Regions from separate parts of the Homo sapiens genome. Here regions 1, 2, 4 and 5 are each linked to region 3. The links are contacts of gene promoters, found by promoter capture Hi-C in human tissues and cell types (Jung and others, 2019). All regions are on one chromosome and are shown on one strand. Each heading gives the region's core, a stretch centred on a gene start or on the middle of the fragment in contact. The rest is flanking DNA. Distances are from core to core; before and after follow the strand shown. Region 1 overlaps RGS7 (regulator of G protein signaling 7). Region 2 has its middle 35 kb from the start of RGS7. Region 3 holds the start of RGS7 (regulator of G protein signaling 7). Region 4 overlaps RGS7 (regulator of G protein signaling 7). Region 5 has its middle 53 kb from the start of RGS7.

The links. The method cuts DNA at HindIII sites, captures the fragments that hold promoters and counts their contacts. A contact is called where the count stands out against the background at its distance.
Region 1: a contact is called between a fragment that was not itself captured here and the fragment with the promoter of RGS7 in region 3, in 2 of the 25 tissues and cell types used here (aorta and dorsolateral prefrontal cortex).
Region 2: a contact is called between a fragment that was not itself captured here and the fragment with the promoter of RGS7 in region 3, in 6 of the 25 tissues and cell types used here (dorsolateral prefrontal cortex, mesendoderm cells, neural progenitor cells and 3 more).
Region 4: a contact is called between a fragment that was not itself captured here and the fragment with the promoter of RGS7 in region 3, in 1 of the 25 tissues and cell types used here (ovary).
Region 5: a contact is called between a fragment that was not itself captured here and the fragment with the promoter of RGS7 in region 3, in 1 of the 25 tissues and cell types used here (dorsolateral prefrontal cortex).

The regions. Positions count from the first base shown.
Region 1 is chr1:241,299,663-241,303,649 of GRCh38, reverse strand. All of the region lies in intron 2 of RGS7 (regulator of G protein signaling 7), which reads left to right. Among named protein-coding and RNA genes, the nearest start is that of RGS7, 56 kb to the left of the region's middle. The HindIII fragment of the contact is 6,377 bases long and covers 1-3,987 here.
Region 2 is chr1:241,390,082-241,394,075 of GRCh38, reverse strand. No RefSeq gene overlaps it. Among named protein-coding and RNA genes, the nearest start is that of RGS7, 35 kb to the right of the region's middle. The HindIII fragment of the contact is 5,447 bases long and covers 1-3,994 here.
Region 3 is chr1:241,354,826-241,359,238 of GRCh38, reverse strand. It overlaps RGS7 (regulator of G protein signaling 7), which reads left to right and starts at 2,034. Exons shown (of 19, transcript NM_001364886.1): 1 at 2,034-2,340; 2 at 3,413-3,540. The coding sequence starts at 3,463. LOC124904601 (a long non-coding RNA gene) reads right to left here and starts at 1,987. Exons shown (of 2, transcript XR_007067052.1): 1 at 1,757-1,987; 2 at 1-1,416. RefSeq lists a silencer at 2,133-2,182. The HindIII fragment of the contact is 13,432 bases long and covers 1-4,413 here.
Region 4 is chr1:241,318,149-241,322,725 of GRCh38, reverse strand. The region is part of intron 2 of RGS7 (regulator of G protein signaling 7); the gene reads left to right. Among named protein-coding and RNA genes, the nearest start is that of RGS7, 37 kb to the left of the region's middle. The HindIII fragment of the contact is 8,539 bases long and covers 1-4,577 here.
Region 5 is chr1:241,407,566-241,412,179 of GRCh38, reverse strand. No RefSeq gene overlaps it. Among named protein-coding and RNA genes, the nearest start is that of RGS7, 53 kb to the right of the region's middle. The HindIII fragment of the contact is 6,683 bases long and covers 1-4,614 here.

The sequences.
Region 1 (3,987 bases), core at 937-3,436, 56 kb after region 3:
AGAGTATAGATTTTATTTTGATCACTATTCAGACATACAAACTGAAAAAAAGGTTTACCAAAGAAATATGACCATTGTGTAGAGTAGACATCTAATGGTATTAAGTAAGCATTGTTAATCTTCTACGTGTGAGTCAGAGGTGTGATGGTGCATTAGTCCATTCTTGCAGTGCTGTAAAGAACTACTTGAGACTGGGTAATTCACCTAGAAAAAGAGGTTTAATTGACTCACAGTTCTGCAGACTATACAGGAAGTATGGCTAGGGAGGCCTCAGGAAACTTACAATCATGGCCGAAGGGGAAGGAGGAGCAGGCACATCTTACATGGCTGGAGAAGGAGGAAGAGAGAGCAGTGGGAGGTGCTGCACATTTTTAAACTACCAGATTTCATGGGGACTCACTCATTATCACAAGAACAGCAAGGGGGAAATCCACCCCCATGGACCAATCACCTCCCACCAGGCTCCTTTTACAACACTGGGGATTACAATTTGACATGAACTTTGGGCAGGGACGCAAATCCAAACCATATCAGATAGTAAAGAATTAACAATTTTATTACTAGAAATAAAAGCCCTGCTGTTAGTATTTGTGGATTTTCATGGTGTATACACTCCCTTCATGGTTAATTTCAAGCCACGTTCATGAAGTCATGGGTCCGTGAGTGGGAAGAGTGGCATACACAGTTTCTCTTTGGCTGAGCAGGTATGAGCTGATTTAACCGCTACCGGACGTGATAATAGTATTACAGTGGTGTTAAAAAAGAAAGAAAGAAAGAAAGAAAAGAATGCCTGTCTTTTAGAGATCCCTACTGAAATACTTATGGTTGAAAAGACATGACGTCAGAAGATTTCTTCAAAATGATTTGGGGTGAGGGTAGGGTAGAGAGTGTAAATGAAACAGTAATGACCATGAATCAGTAATTTTGAGACTGAATCATACGTACACTAGAGTATACTATCATTTTTCTCTACTTTGCTCATGTTTAAAATTTTGTATGATAAGAAAAATTTTTCAAAGTAATTTGTTTTACTGAAAATTCCCAAGGTGCTCCCTATCTGAGTAGAAGCCAAAGTTTTTTGTTTGTTTGTTTGTTTGTTTTGAGACAGAGTCTCGCTCTGTTGCCCAGGCTGGAGTGCAGTGGCGTGATCTTGGCTCACTGCAAGCTCCGCCTCCCGGGTTCAGGCCATTCTCCTGCCTCAGCCTCCCAAGTAGCTGGGACTACAGGCGCCTGCAACCATGCCTGGCTAATTTTTTGTATTTTTAGTAGAAACGGGGTTTCACTGTGTTACCCAGGATGGTCTCGATCTCCTGACCTCATGATCCACCCACCTCGGCCTCCCAAAGTGCTGGGATTACAGGCGTAAGCCACCGCGCCCGGCCGGCCGAAGCCAAAGTTTTAAGATGCCTGCAGCTGATCCTCCCCCTTCACTTTGTTCCACTCACCCTCCTGCTGTTCCTGCAATGTGCTAGGCCTGCTCTCACCTCAGGGCCTCTACGCTGGCTGCTGTCTCTGCTCAGAATACTTTCCCCCAGATAAACCATGAATATTACTTCCTCACTTTCTTCAAGTCTTTGCTCAGATGTCAACTTCCTAATAAGGGCCCCATTTAATGTCCCATTCTGCCCACAGCTCTGGCCCAGAACTCCTGATCCACAGTGCTGATGATTTTCTAACATATTTGACATCTATGAATGTCATAGTATTTTTCTTCTTTACTCGATACTTCTGATATATCATTTGCACTAACTACTACATTTAAAGTATATTTTTGGAAGACTGAGCTGTTGGAAATGCCTTTTAGAATTGATAAAGGTAATGCACATTGCTTTAGATTCTATTCAAAAGGTCAGCATAAGCTTGTTTCTACACTTAAGTGCAGAGGTAGAAAACTTTTAAGAGATTACACTATTGTAAGTATCTTAAAATTGATAAGTTTCAAGAGGAAAAAGAATTATAGTTAGATCAGTTTACTTCCAAAATAACTTTGCCATTATTTTAATAAATTCACAATTTTTAATGAGGATGCTGGTTCTTTTGAATTGTGGCACACTTGCAGAATGTCTCTCACTCCATTTCCCCATTGTCCTTCAGCAAACACTTACACAACTTAACATGCTGCTCTCTCTACCAGTTCATCTTGACCTCCATAACCCTTAACCATCATCCCTAAATATTCAGGGTAACATGCTGTGAAAACTTCAATCAAGAATAAATCTCCTTACTTTGTGGACTTTCAAGCAAACACTGATGATTCTATTTGAACCCCTCAGTGTCATGACCTAAGCAGGGAATTTGAGAACTCGTTTGATGCTTTTACATATATGTAGTTAAGGTGCATGGGTGTAAATGCTGATTAAATTATCCAGTCATTGCATTACTTTACATTTCCACACAGCTTTCTTTGCTCTAGCATGTATTTGCTATGAGCTATTTCAGTGACCCAGGAATAGTAGCTCTGCAGGGTAGAATGTGAAAACCATGGCTGGTTCATTGATTAAATCAAATCACAACTAACTCATCATTGAAGACCTTGTTTTTATTCTGTTGTGCAAGATTCAGTGGGACTTGGGCTTTGGCATAGATATGGCTAAAAGGAAAGGCCTGGCAAATAAGAATATGAAAAGGTGCTTGACATATATCTCACTAGGGAATTACAAATTAAACTAACAATGAAATACCATTAACACCTATTAGAATGGCCAAACTCCAAAACACTGACAACGCTGAATGTTGGCAAGAATGTAGAGTAACAGTAACTCTCATTCATTGTTGGTGGAAATGCAAAATGGTACAGCCACTTTGGAAGAAAACTTGGCAGTTTCTTACAAAAGTAAACATACTCTTACTGTACAGTCAAGACATTACAATCCTTGGTATAACCCACATGAGCTGGAAACATGTCCACACAAAAACCTGTGCACAAGTGTTTATAGCAGCTTTGTTCATAATTGCTAAAACTTGGAAGTAACCAAAATGTCTTTTAGTGGGTGAATAGATAAACTGTGGTACCTCCAGACAATGGAATATTATTCAATGCTAAAATGAAATGAGCTGTCAAGCTATGGAAAGACGTGGAAGAACCTTAAATGCATGCTAAGTGAAAGAAGTCTATCTGAAAAGTCTACATACTATGTGATTCCAACTATTTGACATTCTGGAAAAGGCAAAACTATGGAGATGGTGAAAAGATTAGTGGTTGCTAAGGCTTAAGAAGAGTGGGAGGGATAAATAGATGGAACACAGGATTTGATTTTTGATATTTGATACCCTAATGGTGGATATATGTCATTATAAATTTGTCCAAACCCATAGAATATATAACACCAAGAGTGAACCCTAGCGTAAACTATGAACTTCGGGTGATTATGATGTAGCGATGTAGGTTTGTTGATTGTAATAAATGTACCACTTAGATGCAGGGTGTTGATAGTGGGGTAGGTTGGGGAGGGGACAAGGATTATATGGAAACTGTACTTTCCACTTAATTTTGCTGTGAACCTAAAACTGCCCAAAAAATTGTCTTTTTTTTTTTGAGACATGGTCTTGCTCTATCACCCAGGTTGGAGTGCAGTGGCGTGATCACGGCTCACTGCAACTTTGAAAACCTGGGTTCAGGCGATCTTCCCACCCCAGCCTCCCGAGTGGCTGGTATTACAAGTGTGTACCATCACTCCTGGCTAATTTTTACTTTTTTTTTTTTTTTTTTTTTTTGGAGAAACGAGGTATCTGTGTGTTACCTAGGCTCCTGGACTCAAGCAGTCTTCCCACCATGACCTCCCAAAGGATTACAGACATGAGCAACTGTGCCCAGCCTTTTTTTTTTTTTAAAGGCCTAATAAAACTGGGACGAGAGTACCTAAATGATGCTTTAATGTGACAGTTAAGGACTAAAATGAAAGACTTCTCCATCGTGCTCATATGTAATCGTACCAGGTTGTTATCTATTGATTTGCAAATAGAAGCATAAATAGATTTCAAAAATGA
Region 2 (3,994 bases), core at 1,289-3,788, 34 kb before region 3:
AATGAATGAACATGCTTCCCATTATTTTTTCGTACTATTGTTGATAGGTTTTTTGGATTCTTTCGAATTTAGGACAGTGGTTTTCTTTTCAATTTAGGACAGTGGGATGATTTTCCTGCCCCAAGGGGATATTTGGCAATGTCTGGAAACAAGTTTGGTTGTAATGACTGGGGGAGGCTACTGGAATCTAGTGAATAGAGGCCAACGATGATGCCAATCATCCTATAAAGCACAGGAAATCCCCCACAACAAAAATTATTCAATCCAATGTGTCAATAGTGCTGTGGTTGAGAAACCTAGTTTAGGACAATTCCAGCAATCCTACCACAAACACCGTTGTATGTGTTTTTTGGTGAATTATATGTGCATTTCTCTTGGATGCATACTTAGAAATATAATTTCTGGGTAATAGAATAGGCACATGTTCAGCTTTAGAATATATGGCCAAACAGTTTTCCCAAAAGATTTTACCATTTTACACTCACCACCACTGGTATAGGAGGGTTTCAGTTGCCCTACATCCATCCAACCCAACTTATGAATTTTGGCACTCTGGTGGTTGTATAGTCATATCTCTTTGTGATTTAATTTTCATTTTCATGATGACAAATGATGATGAACACTTTTTCATATGATTACTGGCCATTTAAATATCTCCTTTTGTGAAATGCCTATTCAAGTATTTAGCCCAATTTTCTGCAGGGTTGTTTGATGTTTGCTTATTAATTTGCAGGATTTATTTATACATTTTTTATGTGTCCAGACCCAAGACTTCTCTCTCCACGTCACAATGTGCCCATAGATATGCAACCTGGAAGTGCAAGGAGCTGCCACCTTTTTGGGTAAAAATTTGACCACTGGGGGACAGGAATTGATGGATTAATAGTTACCCTTTTTATCCCACCCTGGACAAACATTCTGAAAGCCTGTTATATGTTTACACAGCCAGTCCTATTGAATTGAGCAACCAGTCACCCATATCAGAGGCCAATTCAATAATTTATCCTTAAACTTCAAAATGAAACATCTTTCTAGACTTTCCTGATAAATGATCTGTTCAGATTCAGAGTTTGGGATACCACAAAACTACAGGTGCTGTTTTAAGCTGATCTTGATGGATCATTTAAACAACAAAGTTCTTGTCTCTCTGAGAAGAGGTCTCAAGAAATCCAACTATGTCACAACCTTTGAGGGAATATAATGTTAATATTTGGAAGGAATGGATGCTAGTGATTATCTTGCCTGCCTGCAATGTTCATGTCAGAAGCTCTCTTACACCTGTCTGCCTCTGGAACTCAGCTTATCCCAGGTTGAATTGCTCTAAACAACATACAATATTTCGTAAATAAAGAGCCCAACTTCGTTCACCTCTAATTTCCATGCATTAACAGATAACTTTAAGTATGTATTTGCTATATTTATAACACTGTGCTAAAACCTTTATATATAGATCAGCAAATCCTCACACACAAAATAGTAAGTCTATTATTAGCTCCATTTGACAGGTGAGAAAATTGCACATAGCAGTTTAGTAACTCACCCAAGATTACGTAGCTCAAGTGTGTTGAAACACATTTGTGGGTTTTTGGTTCAAAATTCCTGTTTGATTAACTGCAAAGTTCCACTGCTTCACTTTGATCATAGTTCTCAATCCAAACATCATATATTGGTTGCCGATAGCACGTGACATAATTTCAAGTCCCTTGATATCACCACTGTGTTGTTCCTTAAGGCTGCTTCTCAGTGTTTTCCTATTGATGAGGAGGAGGAGGAGGAAGAAGAAGAGGAGGAGAAGGACAATGAATCACCTAGTTTGGCTTCCCTTATAAAATACAAAGTAGGTAAACTCTGGGGAAAAAAATGTCATCCTGTCCACTTCGAGAGGAACAGATGGCTCAAGCTTATAAGGAGCTAGGCAAACACAACTAGGAAACTGGAGCCTGGTCCTAAGCATACAGTGGGCTAATAAAAGAAAACAAACATTTAGTAACCAGCGCTGAATGAGATAACAAGAAAAATAACCACAACTATAATCACAGGGCTTTAAGCAAGCCAGGGGGAGCACAAAGGGAATGTCATCCATATAACACAGTGGTTGCCTTCCTATTTTCTCATCCTGAGAATGTTTAATTTCTGCTTTATTCTTAGTGACTGACTCAATGAAGGCAGAGATTAAAGTGGAAAGACCATGGGCTTTGGGGCTGCACATACTTGAGTTTAAAATCAGAATTTGCCACTTACCAGCTGTATGTCTTTGGGGACATTGCTTGATCTCTGAGGCTCAATTTTCTCATCAGGAAAATGAGATTGATAGAACAGCGTCTTTCAGGGATTTTGTGAATGTAGGTGTCTGGGATGGGTTTTCTGAGAAACATGATGAGATGGCAATTTGCATGTAAGAGTTTTATTGAGCTGTTCTCAATATTGACACCTTCAAGGGGAGGGGAAAATTAAGACTTGTTATGCAGTGACAGTGGAAACCTCCTCTGACGCTGTAAGAGCTCTGGAGATTAGATGAGTCCTCAGGATAATCCTGCCTATGGCCAAGCCTTTATGCTTTTCCACCATGGACCAGACATTGGATGTGAGCTGCTTCCAGGGAGGCCGTGTGACCTTGGGCTGGGTGGCTCTCCTTAGCTTAAGCAGATTCCCTGAGAGCTGATTCCCCAAGGGCTTGGAGAATGAGTGCTTCAGTTGTGAAGGTGGATCTGGGCAGTGCCCCACAGTGTCCACTAGAGCAGGTATGCCCCCCACCGCATGATTCAATAGATAACTCCTTACCTTACCTCTCCTTCCCACAGCCTTGTGCTTTTCCTTAAGATGTTGCAATTGGACTTCAAGCTGCCACTGTCAGGGTCCACCCTTGGCTTCCTCTGTCTTCCTGGTCCCAGTCCCAGCTCCCTTTTCTGCTAGTCTTTCAGGCAAGACCCAGCCAGTCAGTTCAGAGACTTTGAGAGTTTCCTGAAAGCTACCAGCTTTTTGAGCTCAGGTTCTAGAGTTATTTATCTTGGACATCTCTGTCCATTACTATGCATCTCTGCTTAGTCTAGATACTGGAGCTTAATCTCCAAATGTGAATCTGGCTCAGATCTGAAAAATTGCGAATCGCCAGACAGCTCAGGTAGAAGCCGACAAAGGAAGCCCCATTGAAATTGTTGGTATGGAGGTCAGGGCTTTTCCCATGATGGGTGGGTGGGAATAATTAGCTAGCTGCCATACAGTGCTTCCCACGTAGCCTGGAGGATGATTGAATTTTATTTTGTATGATATGCAAACCCTTCCAAAGCATCAGTGCTGGCTTTGATTGGTAGCAGCTAATATTTATTGAGCCCTAGTCATGGGTCACATGCTGGGCTAAGTGGTCCATGTGGATTATGCCACCTTGTTCTCGCTGCAACCTGATGAGGCTCCCACATGGAGGGCTGTATTTTCTCCATTTTGTAACTGAGAAAACTGAAGCTTTGAAATGATTTATTTATTAAGGGTCAATGTACTTTGAATCCAGGCAGTATGACTCTCAACATCTATGCATAAATTATGGTCTAAGGCATTGGGAGAGGTGCAGAATCCATACCTGCTCCCTTAGATCCAGGAATGACCCCTTTGTGTTAAGGAGGAGCCATGGGGTTTGTAGTGGATTGAATAGTGTACACCCAAATTTATGTCCATCTGAAACCTTAGAGTGTGATCTAATTGGAAATAGGGTATTTGCAGATATGATTTAAGATGAAGTCATCCAGGATGTAGGGTGAGCCCCAAATCCAGTGACTGGTGCTCTTAAAAGATTCGTGGAGGACACAGAGAAATAGACAGGAGGGAAGGTCATGTGACGATAAAGGCAGAGGCTGGAGTGATGCAGCCACAAGCTAAGAGAGGCCTGGGACCACCAGAAGCTGAAAACAGAGTTCTTCCCTAAAGACCAGAAAACGTATGGCCCTGCTTAGCCTTGGATTTCAGACTTCTATGTTCCAGAACTGTGCAAGAATAAGTTTCT
Region 3 (4,413 bases), core at 785-3,284:
AGCAATGAGAGTGAGAAAAAGCAGCCAGTAATGCAGAAAGAGAAATAATAGAGAGTGGTGTCCGGGTTAATTTATGCTGAAAAGTCAATTCATATGACAATTGAGAATTGACCATCAGCTTAGCACCATGGAGGTCATTTGCCAAAGTGGAACAGGTTCAACATGGAATGGAAAGATTTTGGCATAAAGGGAAGAAGGAAAATAGGGTGGCAATAAGTGGAAAGGGTGTCAAGAGATATTATATATATGTATGTTTATGTGTGTGTATAATTTATATATATAAATTAAATAGAGCCAATTATATATATGATAAATAGAGCTATATATATATATAGGCTCTCTATATATAGAGCTTGGGTACAGCTTCCTATGAGGATGGAAACTTTACCCAGAGATGCAAAGGAGGAGGAAGACTGCTTCCTTCAGGCGGTTCTCTCTTAAGAGGAAAATGGTCAAACTGAGTGAGCATACCCAGTTGTATTTGCAAATTTATTAATCCAAGTCATGCAAGTCACATCAACTTCTCAGGAGCAGACTGAACAAGAGGGAAGAGAGAGGGGTTAAAGGAGGGATAAGTAGATTTCAGCGAGAGCAAAAACGTTAAAGAAATATTTCGAGAAGTCGAAAACGAAGAGAATTTTGCTGAAGAAGATTCTAAGTTCCAGAGGCTACAGTGGAAAGATGTGGGGAGTTGGAGTGGGAGACAGGTCAGACTAGAGTGTGTGTAGTTTGGGACAATGATATTTCTCCTGTAGTACTTGGAACAGGGGCTAGGTTAGATAAATATTTGTTCCTTGAGAGAAACCTGACAAGACCTGCATGGGGCTGGGGTAATACATTGGTCCACATGGACCCCTGTTTGAGTAGAAGTGTTATCTCCAATAAGGTCTAGTCTGCTTAGACCAAGGGGTCAGGAAAGGCTGACCTTGATTATCTTCTCCTTCTGTCCCTCCCTCTCCTCCACACCTGGCCCAGTAGAGGAAGGAAAACTAGATTTACAGCTGATCTTGATTATCTTCTCCTTCTCTCCCTCCCTCTCCTCCACAGCTGGCCCAGGAGAGGAAGGAAAACTAGATTTACAGCGGCCCAGCCCTTCCCCCTGAAAGCCAGAGGCACAGGTTGCTTTACTACCACCGAGACAAAAGTGATCTGTCTCCTTTATGTCATTCTAATCCTTACAGAAGAATTTGTGGCAGCAGTACGAAGACTATAGCTAGGAGGATCAGCACCTCAGAAGCTCTTTGAAAATTGCTAGAGGATGAGGGCAGTGGGCAAGAGGAAAGTTCCTCTGAGCACCTTCTGTTAAAAGGAGAAGCCAGGCCTTGGGGATGTTCCTTCAGTTTCACAAGTGGCAAGATTTTCACCTCCGGTTGGCAGCTTTCAAATCGTTTCCCATTTCTCCAACTTAGGAAGAAGCTGTGAAAACCGCAGGCAAACGGGGATGAATGATTCATTTGGTCCTGGCCATTTCCTTCATTCCTAGGGTGTCTCAATATCTCTCTACTCTGTTATTTAAGCATAATAATAATAATAATAATAATAATAATAATAATAATAATAATAATAATAAATCATCTGCTTCCCTGGGACTTTCAGCGGAGTCGTTAGGCACGTGATGAAACCTTGGTTTGCACGGGGCTCCATCCATCCATTCATCCGTGCATCCGTCCGTCCATCTGTCCATCCATTCACTAGACCACCCACCCACCTACCACCCACCCACCCATCGCACAGCCTTCCTCCCTTTCCGGCTTACACTGGGCGTTAAACTCCGGTCTCTCCAGGCCTCCGGCGCACGTACACACGCGCGGGCGAGCGGGCGGGGTGTGCGGGAGCGCGGGCTGGCCGCGCCGGGGGCAGGACTACAGCCTCCCGAGGGGCGCGAGGGCGGGAGGCCGGGGAGGCCCGGGAGGCCCGGGCGGTGTGGCGGCGGCCGAGCCGAGCCCATCCGAGCCGGCACCTTCGGACGCCCCTGTCCCACGTGACTGTCCCCTCCTCCCTCCTCCCAGTCGCGCGCACGGGCCGGGCGTCTCGACTCCCGCGCGCGCTCGGCTGGTCCCAGTCCCCGGGAGAAGAAGCGGAGGAGGGAGAGAGCCAGCGAGGCGGCCCAGGGGAGCGGGCGCGAGTGGCGGCTGCCGGAGCCGCCTGTGCACGGGCGGCGGCGAGGCGAGGGTGGCGGTCGCCTGAGCAGCTAGAGCCGGGGCGGCGCGGAATCCGCATCCGCCGCGAGTGTGATGAAGCTACCCTGCCTCGCTGCTCCGCTTGCCGCCAGCTGACACCGCCTGCACCCAGCCCGCCCGGGAGGGGAGACGCCGCGGGGCCGTGACCTTGGCGGAGGAGGTAAATAGGGAAGGCGGGCGGGGAGGAGGCAGCGCCACCCAGAGCCCTCCCGGCCCCCGGCCCGCACCCAGCCCTCGCTCTGCGCAGCGGGAGCGTCCGCGGGCGCAGGGCGGCCGCCCCCGGGAGCCCCGCGCCGGGGCTGGGCTACGGGCGCCGCGCGCACCCCGCGGTCCACGGTGCTGAAACTGCTGCCCGGCTCCGGCGGCCGCCGCGGCGCGGGGCACAGGCTCGCCTGCCATTTGCTGCTGCCGTGAGAGCGAGCAAGGGGAGCAGGGGCTTGCCTGTTTTCTCCTCTTTGGCTGGTTGCTCTGGAGGCTTCTGCAGTTAGGCTTTTACCCACGGTGACCCGGGTAAAATGGCCTGAAGGCTTGACCTCCCACTAGTTCTTGTTGCCGGGACATATTCTGGTGTCTTCTTGCAAAAATTAGGCAGGATTACCTCCGGACTTCCGAAGCGAAGTGGGGAGAAAGGAGAGCAGCCGGTGGCTGGCAGCGCAGGCAGGTGAAAGTAGGCGAAGCATATACTCCGGCTCTGTGTGGGAGACCCGGGGGAATAGAGAGGAAGCCCGTGCGCTGGAGAATGACACCGGGAATGGGCCTCTCTGATGGGCTGCAGGTGGGGACACTAGACAGATACCTAGGAGAAAGTGTGCTAACCCGCCCCCCACTCCCCCACCGCATCCCCCAGGTGTTGCCTTTCCACCCTTTGGGGAAAACATCACCAAGTTCAGATGCAAGTATTGGGAGAGAAGAGAACTCTGTACTAGGAAAATGCTACCCACGAGTTTTTAGGGTGAGCATCAAACACTTCTCAAAATGAGTATCCAGAAAATGAAGTCAGCTAAAACAATAACCAAATGGCTATTTCTACCTGGAAGATTGTAATTTCTTACAATTCCTTGAGGTTATTGTAGGTGTCAACTCACTTTTTAAAAAATCCATGTCCTGTGTCACTTTCTCCAGCCAGCCCCAGTTTGTAAGAACGCGCCATGTGGGGTGGGTGCTGTGAATGATGATGATGAATCAGGGGAGTCCCACTGGGATCTCACTGAAGTCTCTCTGACCCTTTGCAGGGCACACTGATAATTCTTGTATCTTGAGAGTGGACCAAGTTTTGGGTGACATGGCCCAGGGGAATAATTATGGGCAGACCAGCAACGGGGTGGCCGATGAATCACCCAACATGCTGGTGTACAGAAAGGTAAGAATGTCTTCAGTTTCTTGGAAAACGGGAAACTTCCGGCTTTCTCGATTTTTTTCCCCCTCTAGATCAGAGTATGTATCAACTTTGTGGCCTTGTGGATTTCCCAGATCATCAGTGATTATGTACTATATACGTGAAAGTGATCTGACATTCTCAAATGATGCATATGTGGGGAAACACACTGAAGTAAATGAGGCCTCCTCACGTGTTCCCTGCTGGTTTTGAATAGATTATTCTGTCCTGAGCAATGACAGCACGTTTGGGCATTCCAGATATTTTGGTTGTTATACACATGATTTAGTAGCATCCGTAATAATTTTAGAAGCTTTTTCTTATACCCCCTTTAAACATTTAGGTTATAATAATGATATAAGCATATCACATTTTAGAAATAAAAGTAGACCACTTTGCAATTTTGTGGCAAGAGAGACTGTGTCTGTGTAAATGTATGTGGTTTACTAATTTCGTTCTTGACTAAACAATTCTAGTCTTTTTTTGTCTTAGCCTAAATTATTTTTTACTTTCTGTTACTTTTATGACTTGGGGTATTTATGGGTATTTATATTCTAGTGCCGTATGCCTATTAAATCATTAAATAATATTTATCTTGCAGAGTTGCTTTTTTTTGGCCACAAATAGATTTGACAGCCTTATACATTTAATAGCAATGCTACTGGCAACAAACTTTTAGACACTGAGCAACCATAATAAAGATGCGTTTAACTATTACATGTGCTTTTGAGTGATTGCTTAGGCAGCTTCACTCTGGTTATCATCAACAATCTTACTAAAATTAAGGATGCAGTGTTCTTCTGCCCCAATCATTTTTATTGCATTTTATAGATGATTTTTTGAGTATATTATCTGGAG
Region 4 (4,577 bases), core at 749-3,248, 36 kb after region 3:
TGTTGGTACTTATCATTCTATGCCATAGGACCCTCAAATTTTCTGACATTGGAACTTAAAGAATCTCTGAGGGGTGGCTTAGCATCAAGGCCCAGGTTACACATGAGAGACAACACATGCAGTAGATAATTGAATTCAGGGTGGCAGATATGCTAAACCCCTGCTTTTCTTGAATTTATGTAAGTAGGATATTCAAACATCAGATTTTTAATACTCTTTCTTTATATGAGAATCAAATAAGTGGCAGATAAGCTGCTATTAGAGATTAACTGGCTAAAACAACTTTTAGTATCAGTTAAAGAGTGAATATATAGTCAACCAATATCTTGCAACCTCTGAATCTATCAAATAATGGTAGTCGATATGTGTGATTATGTGGAGAAATGAAATAATCCTGAGATGCCTTCTGAATCATTTTGTAAAAAGATTCAGCCACTCACTTATAGGTGTGGTGTTGTACACCTAGTATGTGCTAACAACAGTTACTTATAAAGGTGAGCAAGGTGAGGTTTACTTACAAAGGTGAGCAAGATGTGGTAGAGGTGGCAAGAGACATGTATGCCAGCAGAGTGAGAACGTAGAGGACAGAGACATTGCTCTCAGGTGGGATAATCTAGACAGGCTTCAGAGAGGAGGGCTTCTGATGAGTTAGGTTTGAATAGGTGAAATGGGAGGAAGGTTAGTCAAGTGGGAAAAACCGTGAGAGGGCAGACATGGAGGTGGAAGAGTTCTCTGAATGCTCAGAGAACAACACAGAGTCTCTTGGGGATGGAGCGTAGATTTTGCAAGGGACATGTGGTTAATCAACAATGAAGGCAGATTGGAGCCAGTTTGTGAGGAGCTTGAATTCTAGAACGGCGGTTTGGACTTTATTCCACAACTAATGAGTGAGAATTATACACTGTCAATCAGTGCCACATTTTTGAGCGCTGATTGAGCTATGTTTTTAGAAGTCTATCTGGCTACTATGTATATAATAGATTATAGAAGGTTATTTAGAATTATGGTTATTAGATCTAGGTGCAGTTTATTCTTTAAGGTTCATAGTAAATATATAACATATGTCTTAATTCTCAGACATAATTGAAGGAACCATAACCTCCCATCTTCATGTTGTTCTGCACAAATGATAGTGTTCTATGGTTTGAGAAAGAGAAGTTTGGAAGATGTGGAAGCTGAAATAGTTAAAAAAATCTTTTAATCTGCATGAAGATTTTTCAGTGTGCCTTTGGAAAGTGAATCTGATGTGCTCACCCAATCTCGTTATCTGTGGGAGTGCATAGAGCCCGAGTGAGGTGGAAGGGGGATCGAGTTTGAATCCGCCTGGGGACTCCAAATTGCTTGAAAACAGAAAGCTGTGAGGATAAAAAAAACTGCTTGTGCTTTTTGGTTCTTCTGTAGAGAGACCATTTTATTTTTCAGTGCATTTCTTTGGAAGATAGGAAGAGCAATAAAGTTCAAATTTGAGATATCTAAAAGTGACTTTGTTAGTCCACAACAATGGAATCCTAAAGAACACTTCTCTGTCATGATACAATTTAAGAAGAAATTTATACTACCTACTCGCCCCACCCCAGCTACAAACTGAATTTGGGAAATAATACTTTCACACCAGTTTTAAAAGTTTATAAATCTTCATAAAATTATCTTTTCCAATTCTATACTTTCTGTAGTGAGTGATAGTCAGTGTGTCTTCCAATATTCCAGTGGGAATCATTGTTAATAACAGCAGATTTTGTTATTTTTTATGCCCATTCTAATCACATAACATTGGGTATTTACATTGATGATATTAGGCAATTGTCCAGTGCAGCCTTTATTAAGCTTTGTATTGTAAATACAACTACATTTTAGTTTAACACAGTGTTGGAACCAAGAAGGCTTGTCCCCACACCCCACAGCACCCCTTTTTGTTCCTGCTACAGAAAGTGCATGCTTCAACACTGCACTTAATAACACTACTGCAACTGTGGATTTGCCTGACTATTCCTGTTAGTCTCAGTTTGTTGAGGAAAGAAGCACTGTTCCTCCTTTCCATGTTCTAGTGCCTAACACCAAACCTGGCACTTACAATGCCATCAGTTAATGCTTATTGAATGATACTATTTAATTAAATGTATAGATTGAATTTATGTAGATAACATTCACCCTTTTTAGGGTGTCAAGACACCTAGTTTGTTTTTACTACTCGAGTCAAACAGCCAGTCACTTAAGTGAGAGAAAACAAAAAGGTCAACCATTTGTTTAAGTTATGGGAGTGTCAAAGTTGCTTATCCATTCATTCATTTCTTTATTCAGAAGGCACTGTGCTTTGTTAAATCACTTTCCACAGTTATTATAGTGTGATAGTGCTTACTGTTGATAAATTCATTGAGGGATCTCTCCGAAGGATGAGCATTTATATTGTAGTGGAGAACTCAGAAAGTGTTCCTGGGGAAGGTTTTGAAGGAAAACTCATAGTTACATGAGGAACATAGAGCAAGGGGCCTAATATATCAGCAACAGCACCTATTAGGGCACAGAGTTGGAATTAGCATGATGCTTCAGGGAACTACAAGTAATTCAGCATGGCTGGGAAAACACAGGGAGAGTAGTTAGCTTCTTTGGGACATTTTCAAACTTTTTTTCTTTTCTTTACGTGGAGTCTCGCTCTGTTGCCCAGGCTGGAGTGCAGTGGCACAATCTCAGCTCACTGCAACCTCCGCCTCCCGGGTTCAAGTGATTCTCCTGCCTCAGCCTCCTGAGTAGCTGGGATTAAAGGCGCACACCACCAGGCCCAGCTAATTTTTGCATTTTTAGTAGAGACGGGGTTTCATCATGTTGGTCAGGCTGGTCTCGAACTCCTGACCTCGTGATCTGCCCGCCTCAGCCTCCCAAAGTGCTGGGATTACAGGCGAGAGCCACTGCGCCCGGCCTTCGAACTTTTTAAAAACAAAAATTAAATTATAAAACATTTTCTAGAATATGTTTAATGAGTGAAGTGAGATATGATTATGTTATCTTTTTAAAATTTATGTTTTTAAAAATAAACTTTTGGGTCAGGCATGGTGGTTCATGCCTGTAATCCCAGCATTTTGGGACGCTGAGGCAGGAGGATCACTTAAGGCCAGGAATTTGACGTTACGGTGAACTATGATGGTGCCACTGAACTCCAGCCTGGGTGACAAAGTAAGACCCTGACTCTAAACATAATAATATTTTTAATAAAATTTTATTTCTCTATCCCAGGAGTATTTCACAATCATTATGTAAACTTGGAAACATCACCTTTAATCCCTCCAGTTAAAGGCACTACCACCATTAATATTTTGTTGCATTTTCTTAGGGTATTTTTATACCAACATTTAATAGGCACCATTAACAGTAAAATCTATATTCTTGTATTTTTCTTTTATATTAGCATTTCATGTTTACATTTCATGGATGTATAACATGGGAAAATCAGTCAAGTCACATTTTTGTAATAAATCATGATTTAATGGCTTTTATTGTAGAAAGGGAGTAGAAAGCTAACATTTATTGACACCCCATGAAGATTTTTATATTAAATATTATCAGCCAACCAAGTTAAAGATGCCAGAGGCAACCATACTACAGTGTCCAGAGGGTAAGAAATGGTTATGGTGCTATCACATCTGTATGGATTTCAAGTTGAGCTTAGGTTGTTCATTTAATCATTTTAACAATCTGGTGAAACATTTGAAAAATCACACATGATCCACCTGTCTTCCTGAGGAGTAATTGATGGATCAGTATCCTTCGTTTGATCATCTTTTTCTGCTTTTTTGTTAAAAAAAAATTAAGTGTCGTGCATTTTTAAAGGGCTAAGTCCAGGAAGCCTTTTGTAAATGAAGCAAATCGAATATGTATTGCTTTATAATGATTAAAATATAAATGTTGATCATTTTTGCTTATAAAACAATAGCTCTACATTGAAAATTCTCAGGATAGTCTGGGCATGGTGGATTATGCCTGTAATCCCAGTACTTTGGGAAGCCGAGGCAGGTGGATCACCTGAGGTCGGGAGTTCGAGACCAGCCTGACCAACATGGAGAAGCCCTGTCTCTACTAAAAATACAACAACAACAACAAAAATAAGAAATTAGCCAGGTATGGTGGCACATGCCTGTAATCCCAGCTACTCGGGAGGCTGAGGCGGGAGAATCGCTTGAACCCAGGAGGCAGAGGTTGTGGTGAGCCAAGATTGCACCATTGCACTCCAGCCTGGGCAACAAGAGTGAAACTCTGTCTGGGAAAAAAAAAAAGAAAAAAGAAAGAAATTTCTCAGGATAGAAGCCTTTTAGATGCTGGCAAGGGCATATATGCACATAGAATACTTTAAAATGATGTCAAATATAAGAAATGACTTTTTACAGTGGAGAGCTCTTTGATGTCATCTACGTGATAGATTCCAACCAAGTCTCATTTTATATTTAATGTGAAATATTATAGATGTCTATAATTTTACCATTATCTTAAAAACTGAGATACTTCCATTAGTGTGTGATTGCTGGATTCCAGTATTGACCAAACAATTTTAATCTTTTGTCTATATATGTCTTTACTTGCCCATTTCT
Region 5 (4,614 bases), core at 975-3,474, 53 kb before region 3:
CACTTATAAAACCACCAGATCTCGTGAGACTTATTCACTATCACGAGAACAACAAGGGAAATCCTGCCCTCATGATTCAGTTACCTCCCACCGGGTCCCTCCCACAACGTGTGGGGATTATGGGAGCTACAGTATAAGATGACATTTGGATGGGGACACAGCCAAACCATATCAGAAGGTAAAGGAAAGGAATCTTCTAGCTAAATACCATATCTAAGTGAAATCTTTGTCTGTGGTTATTCACATATGGAATTAATTGAGAAATTATTCCAACACTGGAAATTCTGTAAACTTTTGAGGACATTGTATTGCCGGAGGCTAATAAGAGCCTGTCATTGTTAAACCTCTAAGGTTATTCCTTTCCTCAAATTAAGACCAATAGGAAGTGGGCCAAAAATATCTGTGGCTTCAAAGGAAGTGATCTTCTATAATACCCATTTCATATGTGGCCATGGATGAAAAGAGACAAGGAATAATCTCCCCAGAAGCAGGACGGGAGGATGCCAGAATGGGTAACCGAGGACAGCACCTCTGACAGAACACAGGAGTCCTGAGTTTTCCTGCCTGGCGGTGTTTGGTGTTGACTTTGGCACTGTCTCTCCTATGTGACTTCCATTGTTCTCCTTTCTGAATAGGGGTTAGTATTGCTCCTGATTAAATATTAAATAATGGTTGAAAAGGAGCAGGGTAAGTGCATTATTAGTAGGTGCAGCCAGGTAGCCAGGTAGCATTTGCTTCATTTACCTGTCCTTCATCCTTTCTCTCTTCTTTTCCTTCTTTTTTTTTCTGTTCTGGAATTAAAATTTGCTTGGGTGCAGAGTAGTCATCCTGGAGATCATTAAAACAGAAACCACAAGCTAAGGATGATGGAGGAGAAGCAAGCTAGAAAGAATCTGGTTCCAGATGACTTCCTTGAGCAGTTTCATCAGCTCTGGACTGACTCGCAACTTCTAGATTCCTTGCCATCTAAAACATGTTTAGTTCCCTGAAGTTGAATTTTTGTGTAAATACTTGTTCGTGACCAAATTCTAACAAACCGTGGCTTGGTTGCCAAGTAAAATCAGAGGTCGTGGAAAAGAGAAGAAGGTCAAATATTCTTATTTTGGGAAGCAGTAACTGAATTGGTGGAGATGGCAGTGTGGTAGTCCAGGAGGCAAATGTGAGGTTTAGAAGGTAGAGGGTATGGTGCCTAGACAAGTTGAGGAGGCAGAAGAATGTGACCGTGTCTGGGGTCAAAATGGCAATTCAGAGGCAGGAACAATGGTCAAAAGGATAGATAAGGCAAAGGAGGGGGCAGCAATGCTCTCTTAGCTAAAAGACCCTCAGGGCAGACTAGGACCTGTCTCCAGCAAGACACACTCTACTTTAGCTCAGCTTCATTCTAGCAAACATCCCTTAGTGCAGGTTGGCAACCGTAGATGGAAGAAGCAGAAGTACAACTCCCTCACCTTCCTGGTATCCTGTGTAGAAGCATGTCTGAGTTGATGTGCAGCTGATCATATCACGGGCCTCGTGTTCTGTCTTTTTACTGAACAAGCACGAGAACAGTCATTCATAGTGATGAACCATCTGGGTTTAGGCTTGGGTGCCTGCTGTTGAGAGGAGCCGTCTGGGTATGCATTTGTTTCTCACTTCTGGTAAATTAGAGAAAAGTTAGGCTTAGGGATTCAGGGAAGCCACTATCCAGGCCTCCAAAATCACCCACAGTTAAACCTGTTTGGCTCTTCTCAGCCTGGGAAGCCATTTATTTGTCTTTCATACATTTTTTGATTTGCTAGTTGCATTTCTGTTGATCAGATGCACTATTAGGAATAGAGTCTCTTTGCCTAATGAAGCTATAATGAAATTCTAGTCAAGAAAAGCAACAGCATCTTAGTTACCTACATAAATATCTGAATCATTTTGTTGGTCTCTCTAATGTTTCCTGATTTCTGTTCTTGCATTTTAAGAAGCTGCAGAGAAAGAAGCCCTCTCAGACATAGCAGTCATCCCAGCCTCAAGTGGACCTAAATTTGGAATGCCTGAAATTGAAAGCTCCGATAATGGATTTGCTCAAATCAAGGAGAATAAAGTCCTTCCTCCTGGCACGAATAAAAATGGTCGCAACTTTAATTTAAGTGGCATGCACTGGATTTTGTAATTTTCCACCCCTCTTTAATCTACTGGAAAGAAAACACAAAATGATGTAAGAAAATGGGAAAATCTGCCCATTGATATTACATCACCCTTTTGCTTCTGTATTAGCCACAGTTCTCTAGAGAAACAGAACCGATAGGATATAGACATATAGGGAGACATATATATATATATAGAGAGAGATAATGTAGACATATAGATGTCATATATGTCATAAATATATAAATACATATGAATATTTTTAAATTTGATGAACATATTAATTAAAATATTTTAAATTTTAGATACATATATATATATAGAGAGAGAGAGAGAGAGAGAGATTGAGATTTATTGTAGAAAATTGGCTCACACAATTAAGCTGGAGGGCGAAGAGAGCCAATGACATAGTTCCGTCTGAAATCCAAGTCTCAAAACCCAGGAAGAGCCAATGTTTTAATTCAAGTCCAAAAAACAGGAGGAAATCAATGTCCCAGCTTGAAGGCAGTTAGTCAGAAGGAGTTCCCCCATACTCAACTTTCTCGTTCTATTCAAACCTTCAACTAACTGGATGAGGCCCATTCACGTAAGGGAGGGCTGTCTGCTTTACTCGGTCCACTGTAAACGTTCACTGCATGCAGAAACAGCCTCACAGACACACCCAGAATAAAGTTCAACTAAATATCTGGCCACCTCATGGCCCAGTCAAGTTGATACATAAAATTAACCATCACACCTTAAGTGAGATTAAAAGGTAGATGTTTATAGCCTAGATCTAGCTCAGAGGTCAGTGTTTTCAAAAATTTTTTTAAATTACTTGTTGTCAAACCAGTGGATCAGAGACTACCAGGAACACATCTGTAGTGAAAAAAAAAAATAGTTTTACTTATATTGTTTCAGAAAGAGTGGTCTCACTTTGGGGAAACCCCAGGAGCATTTCAGGAGGGAGTTGTTAAAGGGGTCTTTTAGCGTTGGGGCTTATGTTAGATGATTTGAGGAGGGATTAGGACACGGAGACTAGTATTAGATTTCAGACCGCTAAGAAGGTAGGAGGTGAATCAGACCACCTCCTTCCCATAGCAAGTCTGGGATCATATATGTACTGATTCTTAATTTTTCTACTCACTTTATCTATTATTTCTTGTTAATCAGCCCAAACTTCTATCTTTACAAAACGTTTTTGGCCGGGCGCGGTGGCTCACGCCTGTAATTCCAGCACTTTGGGAGGCCGAGGCGGGTGGATTACGAGATCAGGAGATGGAGACCATCCTGGCTAACACGGTGAAACCCCGTCTCTACTAAAAATACAAAAAATTAGCCGGGCGAGGTGGCGGGTGCCTGTAGTCCCAGCTACTCAAGAGGCTGAGGCAGGAGAATGGCGTGAACCCGGGAGGCGGAGCTTGCAGTGAGCCGAGATCGCGCCACTACACTCCAGCCTGGGCGACAGAGCGAGACTCAGTCAAAAAAAAAAAAAAAAAAAAAAAGTTTTTAGGACAAACCCTTCTATACTTTCCAAGATACATTGTATCTTCCTTTACTTATACTAAGAAGGTAGGTCAATGCAGAGATAGGGTATCTGAATGAGTTTTATCTAAGAGGCGAGAGTATTAAAGTGGGTTTAGAGGTATTGTTATAGAAGCAGTATCCACTCACACTGGTGATGTTAGTCAGAAGAGGGGGATATTGAGTCATGTTTGTGTCACAGGGTGGCCTTATCTGTCTTTCTCTAAACGTAACTATGGAGTGAACTTATCTTTGTGTTGTTTTGAGCATTATTTGTGATCTTTTGGGAACATTGTTATCTGGTTGTCAGCAGAGCCACTTTTCACTTTCTCATTACCAACATTTAAAAATCGAGAGAATTTTGCCTAAAATATGGACTTGTCTTCTCTTGAAAACATTTAAAATATTGGGCTATGTTGGGCTTTTATTTCCAGATGATTCTAATAGGCTATCTCATCTCCAGTTTGTCCTAGATCTTACCCACTTATTATTATTTGATACCAGACGTACTCTGTTCTTTTATGATATCTTCCTGGCATTTGTAGACATACGCATTTTCAATCTCTGGTGTAGCTGATGAGTTAATCATAGATTTGGAATGGCCTGGGCCTTTCCAATTATTAAAAATGTTCACTTTTCATAATTTCTTCACAGTTATTGAAATGAAAGCATTTACCATCATTTAACTAAATCATTATACATTAAATTTTGGTCTATCTTACTTGGGGAAAGTAAAATGAAACCTCAAAACATCATATATCATATTTCAATTGACCGATCAGTCTATAAGTGGCTCAGCTGATTTACGTTAAATTTAAACGATAGTAAACTAAAATACTCCTTGTCTCTTTCTAGCTAAACCTCATAGAATGTCTATAACTTGTCTATCAGTGGGACTCTTTAGTATGAGTGACAGAATAATCTCACTCAAACTAGCTTAAACCAAAATAATTTATTCACTTTCATAACTGGAAAGCTAAGGGTAAGATTCATCTG